3 separate regions of the Homo sapiens genome follow, and regions 1 and 3 are each linked to region 2. Evidence: promoter capture Hi-C in 16 types of primary human blood cells and fetal thymus (Javierre and others, 2016). All regions are on one chromosome and are shown on one strand. Each heading gives the region's core, a stretch centred on a gene start or on the middle of the fragment in contact. The rest is flanking DNA. Distances are from core to core; before and after follow the strand shown. Region 1 overlaps THOC2 (THO complex subunit 2). Region 2 holds the start of THOC2 (THO complex subunit 2). Region 3 has its middle 37 kb from the start of THOC2.

Region 1 (3,056 bases), core at 124-2,623, 36 kb before region 2:
AGTGAGGCACAAAATATGACTCCTCTGGCAGGTCTCAAGACCCAGGTACTGCAAAATCTTCCCTAAGATAGCACAACACCTAGTAAATAATAAAAAAACTCTTTCCACCTCAGGAAAATCTGGATTACCCTATTTTTCTAGTGCTCATTCATCTTTTTTACAGAAGTCAACTACTTCTTCCAAATGCTCAATGCAAATAAAAAGAAAACAGTAATGCTACAGGAATTCTACTTAAAGGGTAGGGAGAATAATAACTTTCCTATCTGTTACACTTTTACAACAGCTGTTGCACTTACTTTAAAAGGCTACTATAAAGATAAAATAAGTATCAAAGTCCCTTGTAAAGTTATTTTGAAAATCAAGTTCAAAATTACACATCTGTAGTTTCAAAAGTTCACTGAAGATTTACTGTATTAAAGTTTTCATGTTTGCTTTTTGGTCCTCCATAAAATGGTTGAGAAATACTTAAAAATAGAAATACTAGAGAAACGTAGGGCACTCTATCAGAACAGTCCATCCTGTTCTTTGTCATCCATTCTCTTTTGAAAGTGTTGGCTTACCACTCAGGATCCCCTCCACAAAAAAGAAAGACTAGACAGAGCAGGACCTAATATTAACATACAAGGTATAGTGACAATAAGATTTCTCACAAATATCATGCTAAATTTTATAATTATTGATAAACCATTAAAAGTAAAAGCTAAACACCTCTCCCATTCCTTAACTGAAAAAAAAAATAGATGGAATGCACTCATTTTGTCTTTATGGATATTCTCCAATAGCTAAAATAACTTGTTATCTTAACAACACATACTATACAGATAAATGTCTTACCTATTAAAGATTTGATATTTTCTAAGATTAAATCACTAGTAATACTTCCAGATAAATCTTGCCCCAATTCAGCAATCAGCTTGGCATAACCTTCATTCTCTTCTCTTAACAAATTGAATTTTTGCTGCTTATAACTGAAATCAGATAAATATCATTAAGGGGATAAAATTAATTTTAATTAACAAGCTTGCACAGAGTACTGTATTCTCACTGAATTTTCTTATCTCCAACCTACAACAATCCTAAGAATAGTTGTTGAAAGTTTACCTCTTTGTGTACCTTTTAGAGTAGAAAATAACAGTGATTCATATGAGAACCCCAATATTAATTACATAGGGAAAACCAGTAACACAAGAAAAGGATATTGTTAATATCAGGGAACAATAACATATCACCATTTCCATCTCTAAGAATATACCCTGAGTATAGCCACAGTCATAAATTATTTTATTGCTAATGATGAAAGCATGAGTATTATTTTAACTTTGAATATGGGCAAAAGTAACAATGGTTTTGCACAGGTAAAGATCACTGATGACTCAATATTAGGCTACTTTTAGAAGGCAAAAAACACAAGACATGCTAACCACAAACAAAAAAAACAATCTTCAAAGTCCCCTTAGAAGCTACTAGGATTCAAAATATGAACGAAAAAACATACTCAGATACTTGATCTGCAACATAAGATACGTGTACTTACAAGAGTTTTGTCTTGATTTTAACTGACTTTTGATTGAATTGCTGTGATTGTTTGATAAGCCCTAATGATTCCAGTGTTTCTGGATCCAGGCGTTCCTTTAGAACTGTGTCTGAAACTAAATACTGTATTAAAAAATATTAAAGGTCATTTATTCCTTAGCATTGCATCCACAATGTTAAATATATTCAAACTAAAGCTTCCTAAATAAGAATACAAAAATAACATTCTCTACATAACAACCTACAATTTATAAAAAGGCTTAGAAGTTCAATTTAACAAATATTGACTCCAAATATTGAAATATTTAATAAACGGCTTTCAAAAAATTCACTATAAAATTATATGCATGTTGTATACTGCCTATAAATGACAAGAACTACAGATGAAATTTTCAATATGACTGCATTTGGCTTATCTGGACTTTCACCTAATACAGCACTTAATAGCCTCCTACTTTAAGTTAAATTCTAGTATAGCAAAGACAAGCACCTTCTTCCAGGTCTCAACCACGGCAGTTCTCCCTGGTTCTAAATTTATGAACACAAATGGTTTACCAGACAACAATCATGGCAAGTTCTAGAATTTATCATTTTTAAACTACCTCTATTCTTTTACTCTTTGCTTAACAGTTTATGAGGAAAAAAATCCATTTAAAAGCTGTCTACAATCATTTCTACTTACTTTATAAATGCTTACCTTTTTCTTAGGAACTTACTAGGTCAGGAATATCACCAAAGGTTTTAAATGTATAGATAGTTTAAGTGATATGGATATGGTTACATGCTTATTTCACAGAAACAGCATGTCTTATTTCACAAAACATTCCATTTCAAAACCCAAATCTCACCTTATGAGAAAAGTCAACTGAATGTCAATATCCTCCTTCATTAACATGATTAACTTCTATTACAACTGTTTAATGCAGATTTTTAAAAGGGAAAAATATTTTTAAAAACTTACCAAACATGCTAATACCAACTGTGTAAAATAGTCTCTCTTGCTTTTTTCTTCTAAACAATTTGTCTCAATGTCTATAATGATGAAGAAGAAAAAAGTTTGATTGATTTGTCTAGACTCCCCAGCACTAAAGTAAGATACTTATTTTATTTGAAACTAACTAATTTTAAAATGCCTCAATCTGAATTTGGAAAAATTCAAAACTATGGTAACATGAGATGTTATATGAATGCTTTAATTTCTCCTAAAACTGGAGATTGACCCTGTGACCTATGACAGATCCATAAAACAGTACATCAACTACACTGGAGCTACCTGCTATGGCACTGGAAGCAACAAAGCTTCAAAAACTATTGTTCGCAAAAAATGAAACATTCAAACAAAGTTTAAATGACCACTTGTCAGAGATGCTAAAAAAAAAAAAAAAAGATTATTTTAGGTGGAAAGTTGAACAGGGTTATAACAAAGATTTCTTCTAACTCTAAAGAGCCTAATACTCAGGCTGGGCGCAGTGGCTCACGCCTGCAATCCCAGCACTTTGGGAGGCCAAGGCGGGCGGATCATG
Region 2 (3,295 bases), core at 451-2,950:
ATAGTCCCTATATTTCAAAGGCCTCCCAATTCATTACAGTGCAAGAATAAACACACATGAATAAGTCAGAGACCAATTAATTGCTAACCTGAGTGGTACAGACTTTAAGTGCATGAGCTGTCCTGAGAAGTTTAAATATCTAAAGGTTGGAATAATATTACTTTTAATAGCTATCACTTGAGCACTTACTATAAGCCAAGTGCTTTACAGGCATTATTTAGTCTTCACAACAATCCTTTGAGTAGAGTACTTATTATTCCCAATTTACTCAAGGGGAAACAGTCCAAGTGGTTAAGGAACTTACCCAAGGTCACTCAGCTACTTAAGTGGCTAAGACAGCCGCTTATTTAGGGAATTCTAGAGCTCACACTGTTAAGACTTCATACAGCAGTGCGGGGGGTGCGGGGGAGGAAGCCACATAGGCTGGCACTATTACAAGCGCGGGATCCGGCAACGCGTTCCTCGTGTTTCGTTCCAAGTAACGAAGTTACAAAGATTTGAATCTTTAGCATGAGCCACGGTAAACTGGCTACTAGAAATGGAGAGGGGTGGGCAAGGACGACAAAAATGGCTAACGAGGGTTAATTTCATCCAGGGTTGAGCTTTAGCATCTAAAAGCGACCCAGAGAAGGAAATGAGATGTTATTAATATTTGTTCTTATATCTGAGGTTTGCTTTGCTGCTTAAACGACTCCTTCCAGGGGAAGGGGAGGAGGGAGCGCTCTAACGTGGGGGCGAGAAGACTAGGGGTATGGCAAATTACTGTTTTCGGTGTTACGGGGGAAAGTTTCACGACTAAAGGAAACGCGTTATCCTAGGTACTGGAGAAGCTTGGAGAGCTGCCAGAATTAGTTGCAGTCCCAGGATAAAATGGGGTTTAGGGAACATTTAATGACGAAAGTTGAATCCAACCCGAAATAGCTCTAAGGTGAAAAGACGGAGCAAAGAAATGTCGGTGGTTCTTCAGGGAAAGCGGCAATCCCTGCCACACTTCCCCACGGCGCTACGCGAGGCCGGGACAGTCGAGAGACCGCTCCCCGGGAGGGCGAGAGGTGCCAAACCGGGTTCTTCGCGGCGCCCCGGGCTTCGCGGCAGCGGGCGAAGAGGAGGGGAGGGGAATCCGGGACGGTTCGCCCTCCTTGGACTTCAGGCAGAGGAGGCGCCAAGCTCCAAACTGCGGAGTCCAACGGGTGCAGAGTGAAGAAATGGCACAGAGAGAGATGGAAAGTCCGAATTGCCCCGGCTCAGCCCCATAAAGATAAAGGAGCCAAGTGAGATCAAGCGAAGAGGGGGACACAAAAAGAGACCAAGAGGGAGCGCGGAGACCTGCAGGGGCGGAATAAGAGTTCTACTAAGAGGCTAAAGGAAGCCGAGCTACCGCAGGCAGTAGCGATTTCTGGGAGGCCAGGGAAGGAAGGAGGTCCGCGGCGGTAAACAGCACCTCTCCCCGAGTTCGAAACTCCTAGACGACCATCCACGCCCGCCGCCCGGGTGGGGGAGGGGGTACATCTTTCCCCCTCAACCTCCCACTACAGGTGAGAGTGCAGCTGACGCCCTGGCCCGGCCCGGCAGTGCGCCTGCCTCCGGCCCGAACACTCACAATTCGCCTCTCCCTGATTTCTCCCAGTTCTTTATCCACTCTGCGGGAACCACCACAGCCGCGGCCGCCATCTTCCTCTCACTAGTAGCAGAAGCCCGGATGTGTAGCACGCGAGCGAAGGGTCAAAGGGGAGCACCGCCCACGAGGAATGCCGGGAGCTGAGAGTTCGTTTTTCGATTTCCCGCCCCACTTTCCTCTCCACCCAGCGGAAACCCGAGGCAAGGCAGCCAACGACGTGGAGACTCGCGGGCCCCTTTGCGAGGTTACTACACGGGTTGCGCCCTCCGAAGTCTTCGGCCTTACTTCCCATTAGAACAGAGAAATGCCATCCACAGGCCAACAAGTAGACTTCATCTTCTTCCGTAATATCTACCCCTAACCACTAATACAAACACGCATTTTTCAAGCACCTAATATGTGCTAGACACTGGGAATAGAGAAATAATAGTCTTTGGGAAAGCCATAAATATAAGCAAATAAATTACATTACGCCCTGCTGACTGCTGAGATAAAAGAAAATAATCGGGTCCCTCTCCTTCTCCCTCTCCCTCTCCCGTCTCCCTCTCCCGTCTCCCTCTCCCCACGGTCTCCCTCTCCCTCTCTTTCCACAGTCTCCCTCTGATGCCGAGCCAAAGCTGGACTGTACTGCCATCTCGGCTCACTGCAACCTCCCTGCCTGATTCTCCTGCCTCAGCCTGCCGAGTGCCTGCGATTGCAGGTGCGCGCCGCCACGCCTGACTGTTTTTCGTATTTTTTTGGTGGAGACGGGGTTTCGCTGTGTTGGCCGGGCTGGTCTCCAGCTCCTAACCGCGAGTGATCCGCCAGCCTCGGCCTCCCGAGGTGCCGGGATTGCAGACGGAGTCTCGTTCACTCAGTGCTCAATGGTGCCCAGGCTGGGGTGCAGTGGCGTGATCTCGGCTCGCTGCAACCTCCACCTCCCAGCCGCCTGCCTTGGCCTCCCAAAGTGCCGAGATTGCAGCCTTTGCCCGGCCGCCACCCCGTCTGGGAAGTGAGGAGCCTCTCTGCCTGGCCGCCCATCGTCTGGGATGTGAGGAGCCCCTCTGCCTGGCTGCCCAGTCTGGAAAGTGAGGAGCGTCTCTGCCCGGCCGCCATCCTGTCTAGGAAGTGAGGAGCGTCTCTGCCCGGCTGCCCATCGTCTGGGATGAAGTGAGGAGCGTCTCTGCCTGGCCGCCCATCGTCTGAGATGTGGGGAGTGCCTCTGCCCCGCCGCCCCGTCTGGGATGTGAGGAGCGCCTCTGCCCGGCCGCGACCCCGTCTGGGAGGTGAAGAGCGTCTCTGCCCGGCCGCCCCGTCTGAGAAGTGAGGAGACCCTCCGCCCGGCAGCCGCCCCGTCTGAGAGGTGAAGAGCGTCTCCGCCCGGCCGGCCGCCCCGTCCGGGAGGGAGGTGGGGGGGTCGGCCCCCCGCCCGGCCGGCCGCCCCGTCCGGGAGGTGACGGGCGCCTCTGCCCGGCCGCCGCTACTGGGAAGTGAGGAGCCCCTCTGCCCGGCCACCACCCGGTCTGGGAGGTGTACCCAACAGCTCATTGAGAACGGGCCATGATGACAATGGCGGTTTTGTGGAATAGAAAAGGGGGAAAGGTGGGGAAAAGATTGAGAAATCGGATGGTTGCTGTGTCTGTGTAGAAAGAGGTAGACATGGGAGACTTTTCATTTTGTTCTGTACTAAGAAAAATT
Region 3 (3,189 bases), core at 525-3,024, 37 kb after region 2:
TTAGAGACAGGTTCTAGCTCTGTCACCCAGGCTAGAGTACAGTGGCACAATCACGGCTCACTGCAGCTTTGACCTCCCAGGCTCAAGCAACCCTCCCACATCAGCCTCTAAAGTACAGGAATGCACCACCATGCTTGGCTACTTTTTTTTTTTTTGGAGATGGGGTCTCACTATGTTGCCTAGGCTTTGATCTTGAACAAAATTTTTGTAGAGACAGGAGTCACGCTATGTTGCCCAGACTGGTATCAAACTCCTGGTCTCAAGCAATCCTCCCACCTTGGCTTCCCAAAGCACTGAGAGTACAGGCACAAGCCATTGCACCCAGCCGTGATCTAGGGGTATCTAGGAGACTGTTCCTCAGTTTTTAAGTAGTAAAGATATTTTGACCATCTTCAATTATTTATTTTAAATTTTACTGGATTATAATGAGAATGTGTTGCCTCTACAAATCTCTGCTTCTTTAAATTCATGAAGTTTTCCTCTGTGAAGAAGCACACAGTTGATAGACATTAGAACATAATTTACATTAAAAATTTTTTTTCCGAGTTCCCAAGACCTGGAAAACAAAATAGTTTACATTTTAAAATGCGTGTGGAAATATACATATATATGATTATATGTTGAACTTGTTTGTCACATTATTCAGTCATCTATTTTCTAGCTTATTTTTCATCTACTTGATCATTCAAGTTCTGAAGGAGATATATTATAATCTCCCATTATGGTGGTGGTTTTCTATCAAAATCTTCTTGGGTTTCTGAGAGTTTGCTGTAAATATTAAGCTGTGATACTTCAGTACATAAAAGTTTGTGATTCATCACTTCAACAAGGATTGAACCATTTATGCCCCCTTTTCGTCTTAATGCATTTGATCTTGAATTCCACTTTTTTTTTTAATAAAGCTTGATGGCTTAAGCAACACATTTATAACCTCACAGTTTCTGTGAAGCCTAGAGTCCTGACCTAACTGGGTCTTCTGCTTCAGATTCTCTATAAGATTGCAATCAAGGTGTCCATTTAGGGTCTTTCACAGGCTGCAATCAAGGTGTCAGCTGGGGCTGCAGTCTTATCTCAAGGCTCACTGTGACAGGATGCACTTCCAAGATCACTCAAATCATTGCTGGAAGGATTCAGCTCCTTGCTGGCTGTTGGACTAAAGGCCCCAGTTCCTTGCCAGGGGGCCCTCTGCATCAGCGTAATCACTTAGGAAGAGCCAGAGACAGAATATGAGCAAGACACAGAAGCTACAGTCTTTTGTAACCTAACTATGAAAGTGACATCTCATCATTTTTGCCATGGCTCATTTGTTACAAGCAAGTCGCTGGGTCCAACACAAGAGGAGGGATTTACAAGAGGGTGAATATTGAAGAGGTGAGGATCATTGGGAGCCATTTTAGAAGCAGCCTACTACAGCTTGGTGCAGGATTTTTTTTTTTTTTTTTTGAGATGGAGTTTCACTCTTGTCACCCAGGCTGGAGTTCAATGGCACAATCTCAGCTCACTGCAACCTCTGCTTCCCGGGTTCAAGCGATTCTCCTGCCTCAGCCTCCTGAGTAGCTGGGATTACAGGTGTGCGCCACCATGCCCAGCTAATTTTTGTATTTTTAGTAGAGACGGGGTTTCACCATGTTGGCCAGGCTGGTCTCAAACTCCTGACCTCAGGTAATCCACCCACCTCGTCCTCCCAAAGTGCTGAGAATTATAGGCGTGAGCTACCTCGCCTGGCCTGGTACAGGATTTTTAGTTAGGAGTTCTTTTCTCCCAATTTTCTGCAGATGGTATTCCACTGTTTTCTACCTTTCTGTGTTGTAGATTTTTAAAACACAAAAAAACTAGCCAGGCATGGTGGTGCACACCTGTAGTTCCAGCTACTTGGGAGGATGAGGCAGGAGGATCACCTGAGCCTGGACATGTTGAGGCTGCAGTGACCTGTGATCATGCCACAGCACTCCAGCCTGGGTGACAGAGTGAGACCCTGAAAAAAAGTAAGAAAGAGAGAGAGAGAAGGAAGGAAGGAAGGAAGGAAGGAAGGAAGGAAGGAAGGAAGGAAGGAAGGAAGAAAGGAAGGAAGGAAAGGAAAGAAAGAAAAGAAAGAAAGAAAAAGAAAGAAAGAAAGAGAAAGAAAGAACAAAGACAAGACAAGACTGGGCTCGGTGGCTCACGCCTGTAATCCCAGCACTTTGGGAGACCGAGGCGGGCGGATCACGAGGTCAGGAGATCGAGACCATCCTGGCTAACACGGTGAAACCCTGTCTCTACTAAAATTACAAAAACTTAGCCAGGCGTGGTGGCAGGTGCCTGTAGTTCCAGCTACTCAGGAGGCTGAGGCAGGAGAATGGCGTGAACCTGGGAGGCGGAGCTTGCAGTGAGCCGAGATGGCGCCACTGCACTCCAGCCTGGGAGCGAGACTCTGTCAAAAAAAAAAAAAAAAAGAAGAAGAAGAAAAGAAGAAAGAGAGAAAGAGAGAGAGAGAAATAAATAAATAAATAAATAAATAAATAAATAAATAAATAAAGTGGTGTTACCAGAGCCCAAGAATCTGGGTTATCCAGCGCAAGCCTGTCTGGCAGGATCTGGGGTTATAGAGGAGCTGCAACCAGTACCAGACATATTACCCAAGACAGAGAGGAAGTTCTACAGAAATGTCCAAGCTTCTCCCTGTTCCCAGTCTTCAGCCTTTTACCAGTGCCTCCCAGTGGCCAAAGCTAGCTGGAAGCTAGAATGTGTTCTTTCTGTTTGGAAACTTACAAGGTTTTCTCTTTATACTTGGAATTCAAGGATTTCACAAGGATAAATTTTGATGTGTGTCTCTTTTCATTATCATTCATAAGACTCAGTGAACACTTTTAATCTGCGAACCCAAATCTTTCTTCAACTCAGGGAAATTTTCTTTTTTTTTTGAGACGGAGTCTTGCTCTGTCACCCAGGCTAGAGTGCAGTGGCGTGATGTCAGCTCACTGCAACCTCCGCCTCCCAGGTTCAAGTGATTCTCCTGCCTCAGCCTCCCAAGTAGCTGGGATTACAGGCGCCCACCACCGCGCCCGGCTAATTTTTGTATTTTTAGTAGAGACGGGGTTTCACCGTCTTGGCCAGGCTGGTCTCGAACTCCTGACCTCAGGTGATCCACCCGCCTCGGCCTCCCAAAGTGCTGGGATTACAGGCGTGAGCCATCGCGCCCAGCCCGGAAAT

The links. The method cuts DNA at HindIII sites, captures the fragments that hold promoters and counts their contacts. A CHiCAGO score of 5 or more calls a contact.
Region 1: a contact is called between a fragment that was not itself captured here and the fragment with the promoter of THOC2 in region 2, in 2 of 17 cell types (M1 macrophages and M0 macrophages). The highest score is 5.6, in M1 macrophages.
Region 3: a contact is called between a fragment that was not itself captured here and the fragment with the promoter of THOC2 in region 2, in 1 of 17 cell types (M0 macrophages). The highest score is 5.9, in M0 macrophages.

Annotation. Positions count from the first base shown.
Region 1 is chrX:123,695,187-123,698,242 of GRCh38, forward strand. It overlaps THOC2 (THO complex subunit 2), which reads right to left. Exons shown (of 39, transcript NM_001081550.2): 5 at 2,495-2,565; 6 at 1,535-1,656; 7 at 835-968. Among named protein-coding and RNA genes, the nearest start is that of THOC2, 36 kb to the right of the region's middle. The HindIII fragment of the contact is 710 bases long and covers 1,019-1,728 here.
Region 2 is chrX:123,731,352-123,734,646 of GRCh38, forward strand. It overlaps THOC2 (THO complex subunit 2), which reads right to left and starts at 1,701. Exons shown (of 39, transcript NM_001081550.2): 1 at 1,601-1,701. The coding sequence starts at 1,671. RefSeq lists an enhancer at 1,637-1,716. The HindIII fragment of the contact is 10,140 bases long and covers 829-3,295 here.
Region 3 is chrX:123,767,959-123,771,147 of GRCh38, forward strand. No RefSeq gene overlaps it. Among named protein-coding and RNA genes, the nearest start is that of THOC2, 37 kb to the left of the region's middle. The HindIII fragment of the contact is 1,749 bases long and covers 901-2,649 here.